2 separate regions of the Homo sapiens genome follow, and region 2 is linked to region 1. The links are contacts of gene promoters, found by promoter capture Hi-C in human tissues and cell types (Jung and others, 2019). All regions are on one chromosome and are shown on one strand. Each heading gives the region's core, a stretch centred on a gene start or on the middle of the fragment in contact. The rest is flanking DNA. Distances are from core to core; before and after follow the strand shown.

What was found. The method cuts DNA at HindIII sites, captures the fragments that hold promoters and counts their contacts. A contact is called where the count stands out against the background at its distance.
Region 2: the fragment with the promoter of DHRS4 here is called in contact with the fragment with the promoter of IRF9 in region 1 in 2 of the 25 tissues and cell types used here (neural progenitor cells and thymus).

What each region holds. Positions count from the first base shown.
Region 1 is chr14:24,160,015-24,164,996 of GRCh38, reverse strand. It overlaps IRF9 (interferon regulatory factor 9), which reads right to left and starts at 3,732. Exons shown (of 9, transcript NM_006084.5): 1 at 3,659-3,732; 2 at 2,673-2,853; 3 at 1,848-2,031; 4 at 1,489-1,619; 5 at 1,038-1,119; 6 at 863-934; 7 at 42-383. The coding sequence starts at 2,852. It overlaps RNF31 (ring finger protein 31), which reads right to left. Exons shown (of 21, transcript NM_017999.5): 20 at 4,590-4,758; 21 at 4,342-4,477. The coding sequence ends at 4,424. RefSeq lists enhancers at 2,567-2,626, 3,616-4,005. The HindIII fragment of the contact is 9,939 bases long and covers 1-4,982 here.
Region 2 is chr14:23,952,356-23,956,776 of GRCh38, reverse strand. DHRS4 (dehydrogenase/reductase 4) reads right to left here and starts at 3,007. Exons shown (of 8, transcript NM_021004.4): 1 at 2,861-3,007; 2 at 1,565-1,742. The coding sequence starts at 2,988. It overlaps DHRS4-AS1 (DHRS4 antisense RNA 1), which reads left to right and starts at 1,665. Exons shown (of 2, transcript NR_023922.2): 1 at 1,665-2,029. RefSeq lists enhancers at 2,366-2,495, 2,546-2,675, 3,286-3,485. The HindIII fragment of the contact is 7,990 bases long and covers 1-4,421 here.

The DNA of each region.
Region 1 (4,982 bases), core at 2,483-4,982:
TAGGGGGTGGAAGCTCATGTGCCCAGAGAGAACAGCCTCACCTCTGCAGAAGTAGGCGGTTCTGAAGAGCTCCACGCACTCGTTGCTGGGCAGCAGATGCGGGCCTGGCCCAGGTGGAGCCTGGGGTGCATTCCAGGAGATGGGGATGGGGCAAAGGCGCTGCACGAAGAGGCCTCGGGGGTTGCTGGCCACTAGGATGCCCCTCTCAAGCTGGCTCAGCAGGCGCTGCGTGGGCTCCAGTGGGCCAGGCTTGGGGAACAGCACCTGCTCCATGCTGCTCTCAGAGCCTGAGGGCTCAGCCACAAGGCGGCAATCCAGGCTTTGCACCTGGGCCTCGCCCACCACGCGCCCGTTGTAGATGAAGGTGAGCAGCAGTGAGTAGTCTGGGGATAGAACAGCCCTACCTGGTGCTGGAGGAGCATGCAGGCTGGCAGCAGCCCCTCCCCAGGGGAACAACTCCACCTCCCCTCCCCACACCAGCCAGGGGGCTTCCTCTCAGGTTTTCCTATCACTGAGGCAAGTAGCTAGTATGTGATTCACCATGAGGCCTCAGGGCTCAATGCCCAGGGGCTTGTAGTTTACTAGAAGGTCCCTTGAGATTGGGCCTCTGTTTGGCCCAATGAAATCAATGTCTCAATGTAGATTTCCAGGAGAGTGTATAGGGTGGTATTTTTGGGAAGCAAGCTTTTTGGAGTCTGGCCAGGCATATGGAATTCTCGCCACCTAGAAACCACTGCCTAGGGCTATGGTAATGTGGGTACAGTTTGCTGTAAGCCCTGACTGACTAGATAATGCATGCATAGTCAAAGGTGGAAGACCTCAGGGGCACAGGGCACAGGAGAAAGTCAGAAATGCCACGTACCTGGCTCTGGAGGAAGCAGAAACTCCAGGGACCTCTGATCCCCTTGAAAGGGGGCCTCAGTTGTGTCTGTAACTGGAAGGGAAGCAAAGGCACTGGTCATTCAGAGTGGGACTGGGGAGTCTTGGGCCAGAGGGTGTGGCATGGGGGACGACACAAGAGGCAGGGCAGGTGGTACCTTCCTGTGGCTCAGGGCTGCTGCTGCTGCTGCTGCTCCCAATGTCTGAATGGACTGCTCCCCCACTGGCCCCCTCCTCCTCCTGCGGACACAGTGTCTTTTTATTTTTTTTCTCTTTTTTTGAGACAGAGTTTCACTCTTGTTGCCCAGGCTGGAGTGCAGTGGCGCGATCTCGGCTCACTGCTATCTCCGCCCCCCGGTTCAAGCGATTCTCCTGCCTCGGCCTCCTGAGTAGCTGGGATTACAGGCAGATGCCACAACGCACAGCTAATTTTTGTATTTTTAGTAGAGACGGGTTCTCACCATGTTGGTCGAGGCTGGTTTCGAACTTCTGACCTCACGTGATCTGCCAGCCTCGGCCTCCCAAGACACAGTGTCTTTCATTGGCCCACCTCTCCCTCTGGTTACTGTCCTGCCCTTAGGCCCACCCAGTTCCCTCTCCATCTCTTACATTATTGAGGGAGTCCTGGAGCACAGAGGGACTGAGTGTGCAGTTCTGCATGGCATCCTCTTCCTCCTTCCTCTCAGAGGACACAGAACTGTGCTGTCGCTTTGATGGTACTTTCTGAGTCCCTGGCTGGCCTGTGGAATTGTTGAGGGACAGAGAAAGGTCAGGGTCTTGAGCAAGGACAGAGGGTGAAGGAGAGGTCTGAGGCAGTGAAGGATGGGCAGGTCTAGGAAGGGAAACCTGGGTTGCAGCCCCCCAAGGGCATGGACAGGGCAGAGCTATAAGCCTGGGGGAAGCCTGCACATCTATCCTTCCTCCCCAGTCTGCTGAGTCTAGCAGTGGTTGGACAAGGGGAAACTCACCAGAGACGATTCCTGGTGGCAGCAACTGATACACCTTGTAGGGCTCAGCAACATCCATGCGGCCCCTCTCAGGAACCTCCTTAAATTCAGAACTCTTGTTGAGTGCACAGCGCAGGCGAGTCTTCCAGACAGCTGGACCTCCTGTGTCCCCCTCCTTATACTTTCCCTTAAATATTGCCCAGGCCTAGGAAAGAAAGCAAGGGAAGAAGAGGCAGTGTGTTACAGGCTCCACCTGCCCCTCCAATAGGACTGGCTTTACAGGCGTGCAGCTCTGAGCTCAGAAGGGATTATGCAGGGTCTGTGCTCTGCGTTGCCATCTTGAAATCCTTGGAAATTTTTTTTTTTTTTTTTTGAGACAGAGTCTCACTCTGTCACCAGGCTGGAGTGCAGTGGTGCGATCTCGACTCACTACAACTCCACCTCCCTGGTTCAAGCGATTCTCCTGCCTCAGTCTCCCGAGTAGCTGGGACTACAGGCATGCACCGCTAGGCCCAGCTAAGTTTTGTATTTTTAGTAGAGACAGGGTTTCACCATGTTGGCCAGGCTGGTCTTGATCTCTTGACCTCGTGATCCACCCACCTTGGCCTCCCGAAGTGCTGGGATTACAGGCGTGAGCCACCGTGCCTGGCCAATATCCCTAAAATTTTTGAACAAGGCCTCCACATTTTCATTTTGTACTGGACTCTGCAAATGATGCAGCTAGTTTTCCTCTCCAATCTGTCCCTTATCTGAAACCCAGGCAGACGCAAGTGCTCGAGGATGAGTGTACCAGTGTGTATACACCATCCCACACACAGAGGAACAGTGGTTTCCAGGCCCTTTCACCTTGAAGAAGGCAGCATCCTGGTCCTCCCGGAAGTCCTGCTTGCCTGCATGTTTCCAGGGAATCCGGAACATGGTCTTAGCTGTATCATCCCAGCACACTCCGGGAAACTGCCCACTCTCCACTTGCTCCACCACCCAGTTCCGGAGTTTTCGGGTGCAGCGTGCCCTGCCTGATGCCATCCTGGGGGATAATAGGAGCAGGATGCATCAGAACTGACACTTTGGGAGGGAACATCTCCTGAGACCCTGGCCATTGAGACTAGATTCTGGCAACAGGTCCCAGAGATCCCATCCATCTTCTTTTAGCTCCAAACACATTTCAACACTCTATGGGACAGAATTGTTTCCTTTCTGCCATCACTAGCAGTGACAAACAACAACAACAACAACAAAACCCCCCAAAACATTGTTTTTAGCACTCTAAGCTGTGATACCTGGAAGGAAACCTTGGGCACTGGTCTTAATTTTAGGACTTTTCAGAGATGTATTGTTTACAAAAGAATTCCTTTGGTGATCGTTCCTGGTGACAGGCCCTGTCTAGATTCCCGAGCATCAGCAGAGGTAGGTTCTGCTGAGATCCATCAGGCTCTTCACCCACCGCCCCACAGCCTACACAACCTAGCCTGACCCCCACCCCCTGCCGGCCCCAGGAGTAGGTGGGGCAGGAAGTAGGGGTGGGGTTGGAGCTGCAGCAGAAGTGGGCAGGGCCAGATGGCAAGGAAACAAATGGTCCACTGAGGCTGGGGCCAGGAGCCTTCTTCCTTGAACAATCCAGCAGTAGGTCCTCCTGACCTTTGCCTACAAGGGTCTGGGGAGCTGGCCCTTGTCAGTCTCACTCTCAGGCTGAATCTCCCACTTCCTGACTTAAGAGATCTTCTGTCTATCCCTCAGTCTAACAGAGCGACCCCTAGGACCCCCTGCCCTCAATCTGGCTGGACTTTCTAGCCCTAGATCCCAGGCTGACTCCCATCCTTGGCTGATCTTACCTGAGTTGCTGTCCAGGCTGTCGCAGGGCTCAGACGACCTCAGCTTAACTCCTGGCTGGGCGGCTGATCTCTCCGCCCCTTTCTACAGTCCCCACCCTAAGTTTCAGTTCTCCTCCAGGGAGGGCCTTTTCCCAGAAATCACGTGGTCTGAGTTGCAGGGAACTGGCGGCCACTAGAGGGCAGCAGCATCTGAGCATCTCACTATCAGGATGCCACTGTCGCAGCAGGGGGGCCCTGCCCTGCTGGCTCAGCTCCAGCCTGGCTCATTCCCCTGCCTCCCTCAGATACTCTTGCTTCTATCTGACCTCTGGGTGACACCGTGGCTTCCCCAGGGAGGCCAGTTTCCTGGAGTCAGGCCTGGGACCTCTGGACTGCTGTGTACACCTGTGCATCTGCATTCCCCCACAGTGCCCACCTGATACATATTGGGTGACTTCAAATACCAGTCAAATTCTATGAAAGGAAAAAAGGAGGCAGGGAGGGAGGAAGCCCAGGCCAGGCTGCTGGATGGGGAGGGCCTCCCTTGACCATCCAGGGTGTCAACTCCTTCCTGGTCCTGAGTCCAGGGAGGGTCAGGCACTAGGTTGCAGGGGGCCCTTTTCAGCAAAGCTCTGTTCACCCCGCTCTTTCCCTGGTGCCCCTAGATGGTGGCACCAGGAAGAAGGACCACCAAGAAGCCTGGGTGGTAAGATGCCTCTTTATTGGTGCTGGAGCTGTTCCTGAGGGAGCAGGCCATGGGACCCTCATCGGGACCCTTGCCCTCAGCTACTTCCGCCTGCGGGGGATACTCTGTCCCAAGGGTACCTCTTCTGTCAGCTTCTGCAGAAGGAGAGAGAAGGTAATGATATTGGAAGCCTGGAGCTCAGACACAGTCAGCACCAGGTGACTTCTGTAGGGTGGGTTAAGAGATGAGGCTGGGTGGAGGCTATACCTGTAACAAGCGGGCCTGGTAAGCAGGGGGATCCTCTCCAGCCAAAGGCTGGGGGCGTACGTGCAGGTAGCGCTCAGTGGCCGTCTCCAGCTCTTCCACCTCATACAAGGTGGCTGGGTCCAGCGAGTGGGCATTGATGAGGCTCACAAGATACTCTTTGTAGTGTGCCCTGGGGAGAAAAGGGAGCAGAATATTTGTTGTGTTGGCTAATATTAACTGAGTGTGTCTAACATAGCTGGACTCTGAGACACCTGGACGAACAAGATTAACAACCCACCTGTGCCCACACTGCCTGCTACTATCTACCCATGCCCTTGCCCAGAAAGCCTCCTCCCTCCCACCCACTGCAAGACCTACTGCTCCCAAGGACCCATTTTACTGCCTGGGCATGCC
Region 2 (4,421 bases), core at 1,758-4,257, 210 kb after region 1:
CAAAAATTAGCTGGACGTGGTGGTGGATGCCTGTAATCCTAGCTGCTCGGGAGGCTGAGGCATGAGAATTGCTTGAACCTGGAGGCGGAGGTTGCAGTGAGCTGAGATTGTGCCATATCACTTCAGCCTGGGCAACAAGAATGAAACTCTGTCTCAAAAAAAAAAAAAAAAAAAAAAGGATATGGAGGCCCATGGCCTCTATCTTTCCAATGCAGCCCCTTCCCCAGCAGTACTCCTGAGCCTGTGCTCTCCACTGTGGCCTGACAGTGCTCCTCTGTTTCCTTCAGTTCCTCCTTGGCTGTCTGCTCATTTTGCAGAGTTATCTGGAACCTCATCACTATTCCATCTGTCCATTCCCATCCATTCCTTAAGGTTTAGCTCAAGTACCACCTCTGGGCCAGGCCTGTAGGCCATGTTAAGTGAACCTGGTGGGGGCCACAGGATGTTTTTCCGGGAGGATTTTCACATTACATTGCTACATGTCATATGGTTAGTGCTAATTGATCCAGACTCCCAAACGGCTCCTTCCACCATCAGGATCAAGGCCCCAATCTTGGGGTCTGTCCATCAGCCTAAGCCAAGCTTTTTTGGACTCACATTTGTGACTTTCTTGGACTCATATTTGGCTCTTTCCAATGCACATTTGAGCATTTGCCAGACAGTTCCTTAAAAATGGAATTACCCTATTCTGTCTACCATACTACTGTCTACTATTGCTTAAGATCCTCCTCTTCTAAGATTATGCAAATTATTTCTGCCAACCTTCCAATCTGTTAGCAGAATCCTGTACTTTCCATTTTTGGGTAGATTCTCCCTTCCACTCTGGGAAATAAAGTGTATGCCGTGAGCCTCAAGGGAAGAGGAGCTTCCTTTGTGAATGCTTCATATTTGCTTCAGCAGCTGCAAGGCTGGTGTCCACTACTAATTCTGACATCGACTTATATACTTTCTTTGAGACTAAAGTCCAGTACCCGGTAGTCCACAGGCAGCCAATAAAGGAAGGGAGCCTGGGAGGTCTGGGTCTTTCCTTACTGGCTGTGGGACCTTGGGAAGTTGCTCCAGCTATCTGAGCCAGGGTCTGCAGACTGAGAGAATAGTCCTTGCCTTGCTTGGGTTGTTGTCAGGTCTAGAGATAACCTGTGTAAGGCTCTGAACACAGGAAATGGCACATAGTAAGTGGCTGAAACATGGTGGGCTGCTTCCTGAGGTTCCCAGGGACTTGACTCTATAAGCTGAAGAAGAGGGGAATGTTTATTAACTCATGGGTGGGAACATGTATTTTGTGATTGTATTTACCCTTCACATCTGTTCAATTAGATTGAAAATTACTGCAGAACCAGTACCAGCTGTTTCTTTGGGGTACTCAAGGGATGATGCAGGGTTGAAGCATTAGAATGTTTTAAAATTCTCTGACTGAGATGGGATGATTCTCTGACGTTAGTATATGGACATAATAGAAAGGCACACAGTAAAAATGTGCTGCTGTCTAGGAAAGCAGGGAAGGAGGCTCAGGCTGGCTCCGTTTTCCACCTCCTGGCTCTGTGCCCATTTCCCTGCAGCTCACCGTGGCCACCAGCCGCTCCCGGTCCTCCGCCTTCCCCACATGGCACACGGTGCCCGTCACGCTCAGCCCCTCCCCCTGCAGCGTGGCCACCGCCTGGTCCACATTCTGCTGCTTCCGGCTGCTGACGACCACATGGGCCCCGTCCTGGGCCAAACGCCGGGCGATGGCGAAGCCGATCCTGTGAGCAGAAAGAGACAAAGACTGCTAAGGCCTGTGCAGGGGAAGAGGTCGACAGTATGAGCTCTGAAGTTAAGACTGCCCGGGTTTGAATTCTGGCTCTTTCTCTATATAACCCCTACGTGTGCCTACTATGTGTAAAACAGGCTTAATGGCATGGCCATTTTTGGCATTCCTTTACTTGTTTTTATTATGACCTGGACCACAGCCTCAGTTCCCAAGAACTGACATCACTTTCTACAGTTCCCACCATGGGTGACAGGCTTCATCCCCTCTTGGGACTGAGAGGTGAGAAATGAGCTGGGTTTGCAGCAGCAGCCACTTCCGTGATTTGAGGGTCTCACTCAGAACAGCCCTGCCCCCAGGTTTCTTTCTTACTCGTCTACATCATTCTCAAAATTCTATCCTTAGTTATTTTTTGGGGTGCATGTGAAAAGATGGTCTCCGGTCAAAAATGTAAATATTGCCTTGGGAGGAAGAGTTACACATTTTGCATTTGTCAGCTATTAGCATTTTACCTACATTTGTATTTTAGTTTTGTGAAGAGCTGGCATCTAGCAAAGTCCTGTAGAAATGAGGACCAGGATAGACAAGAATGGTGGGTGAGAAACAGGCTGGGCAAGGTCGGCCCAGATGTACCGACCTAAACAAAAATCTCGACATATGGCTCTGGTGTCCCATCTAGGTAAGGGGGAGGGGTTCCGGGGGACTTTCCGGTGCCCAAATAGAATGTCTGGTACATTTTCAAAGTGCTGGAGGCCGTGGGATAGTATTTTGAAATCCAGATTTCCTTGGATTTCCAGTTTCTGGTCTTCCCAGACGCTAGGTGGCGCTGGTTGACTGGGGCAGCCCAGAACACTGGGGAGACTAGATCGATAGGGCTGCACAGAGGTGGCACAGTTGTGCCAGAGGTAGCAGGGACAGGAGGGCTGGCAAGGGAGGGTCCAGGGCTAGGGGATTCGGAGTGGCTTCAGGCGGACCACGTGGCTACCTTTTTTCCAGGGCCAGACTTTGGCAGCGTGTAAGGTCTGAGGACAGGGGCACCGGAGGCCGAGGATGAGAGGCCAGTGCCTGTTTCCAGGCAGCCAGGGCCTCAGAAACTCCGGCCGGAGCACTCACCCGTCGGTGGAGGCCGTTACCAGGGCCACCTTATTTGCGAGCGGGTCCCGGCGGGTCATCCCGGAGCTGGCCATCCGCACCGAATTCCAAGCCCGGGCACAGAGGCCTAGCAGCCCCGCCTTGTGCATGGATCAGACCAGCAAGTATGGGTTCCACTCTTCCCAGGGGCGGTGACAGAGTAGGGCGAGGGGCAGGACGAAGGGCGGGCCGATTCCCTGCCCGCCCTGCTCCCCGCCCCGGTACCGCTGTGAGCGGTCTGTGGCCCTGGGCACCTCCATCCGCCGCGGCGCCCCTCCACCATCTACCTTCCGCCTGACTGGGGCTTGCCTTTCCGGGCTGGCGGGTGAGCTCTCCGTTCAAGTTGCCTGTAGGGCTCGCCCCTCCCCTGGCCCTTGCAGGAACCCGCAGGCTTTGGCTGCTGCCTTTCTGCATCTGCTTGCCCACCTTTTCTTCTCTGGGAAGTGGGGGTTTTGAGTTGGTTGCTTTTGCTTCTTCAGAATTCCTTCTCCAAGAAAGTCTGGGTCTATGTGTGTGACAGCCCACAGGAGGGCAAATGTTTTGAGACTGCCCATGGAGGTGAGGCCTGTGGTCGCCATGGAGTCCACCAGGTGAGGCTGGAAGAGCCTGGGAGAGAGACGTGATAGGGAGTAGCTGCGCCAGGCCTGGCACTGCCCTTCACTCTGCCCAAGGTCTCTTCCATCTTCACGGGCCCTGGAGGGCAGACTATGGTCATTGGCCAAACAGCATTCTCATGTCCGTTGACAAAGGGACTTCCTCCTTTACAGGGGCTAAGTGGTAGCGAGGAGGCTGGACAGTCCCTCAAGCAGTGGTGGAAATGCAAAGAACTCGGGGCACTCAAGTTCTCCCTAACCACTCTGTCCCCAGGTCTTAGCCGCCATCTTAGTTCAATAAATATTTGTTGAATGCAAAATCTCTTTATGAACTGTAAGCTACTAAGCACATAGTAGTTACTGCCACCATGTAGTGATTATTATTGGTGCCCTGGGCCAGACTCTTCATCTGTAAATTACTGAGGGTATGGATGATGAATAAAGTCCTTGCCAGCTATAAATTCTGTGTCCAAGACTTCAGTCTGCACTTCTGCCAAGTGGGCTGAAATGATCTCCCTCCTGGGTTTCCGGGAGAATGAAGAAATCTGGATGGCTTATGGTACAGTGTAGAAAGGCCCCAACAGACCCAAATGCAAGCATCTGAATTGGTTTAACCCACTGGCCTCCAAAGCCAGACTGAGAAGCAGTGCTGGTTCATGGCAGCGTTTTCACTAGTTCAAGGCAAAATGAGAAAAGGAAACAATTACAGTGAGTTTCATAAAGCTAAGCTTATTTAACAGTCCTTTATTGTGGAGTATACGTTTGCTTCTTTTTGTGTGTGTGTGTGTGTGTTAGTGTTTTCTTTTAGAAAAGATGATGAAAGCAGATGGGTAGGTTTAGAGATGTGTTATTGGTGAAATCACCAGTTTGGCAGCCTTATGCCAGTCCCTACAATTAAAGGGGAAAGAATCCTGGTTTGTGAAATCCAGTTCTAGGCATGACTTTTGAAT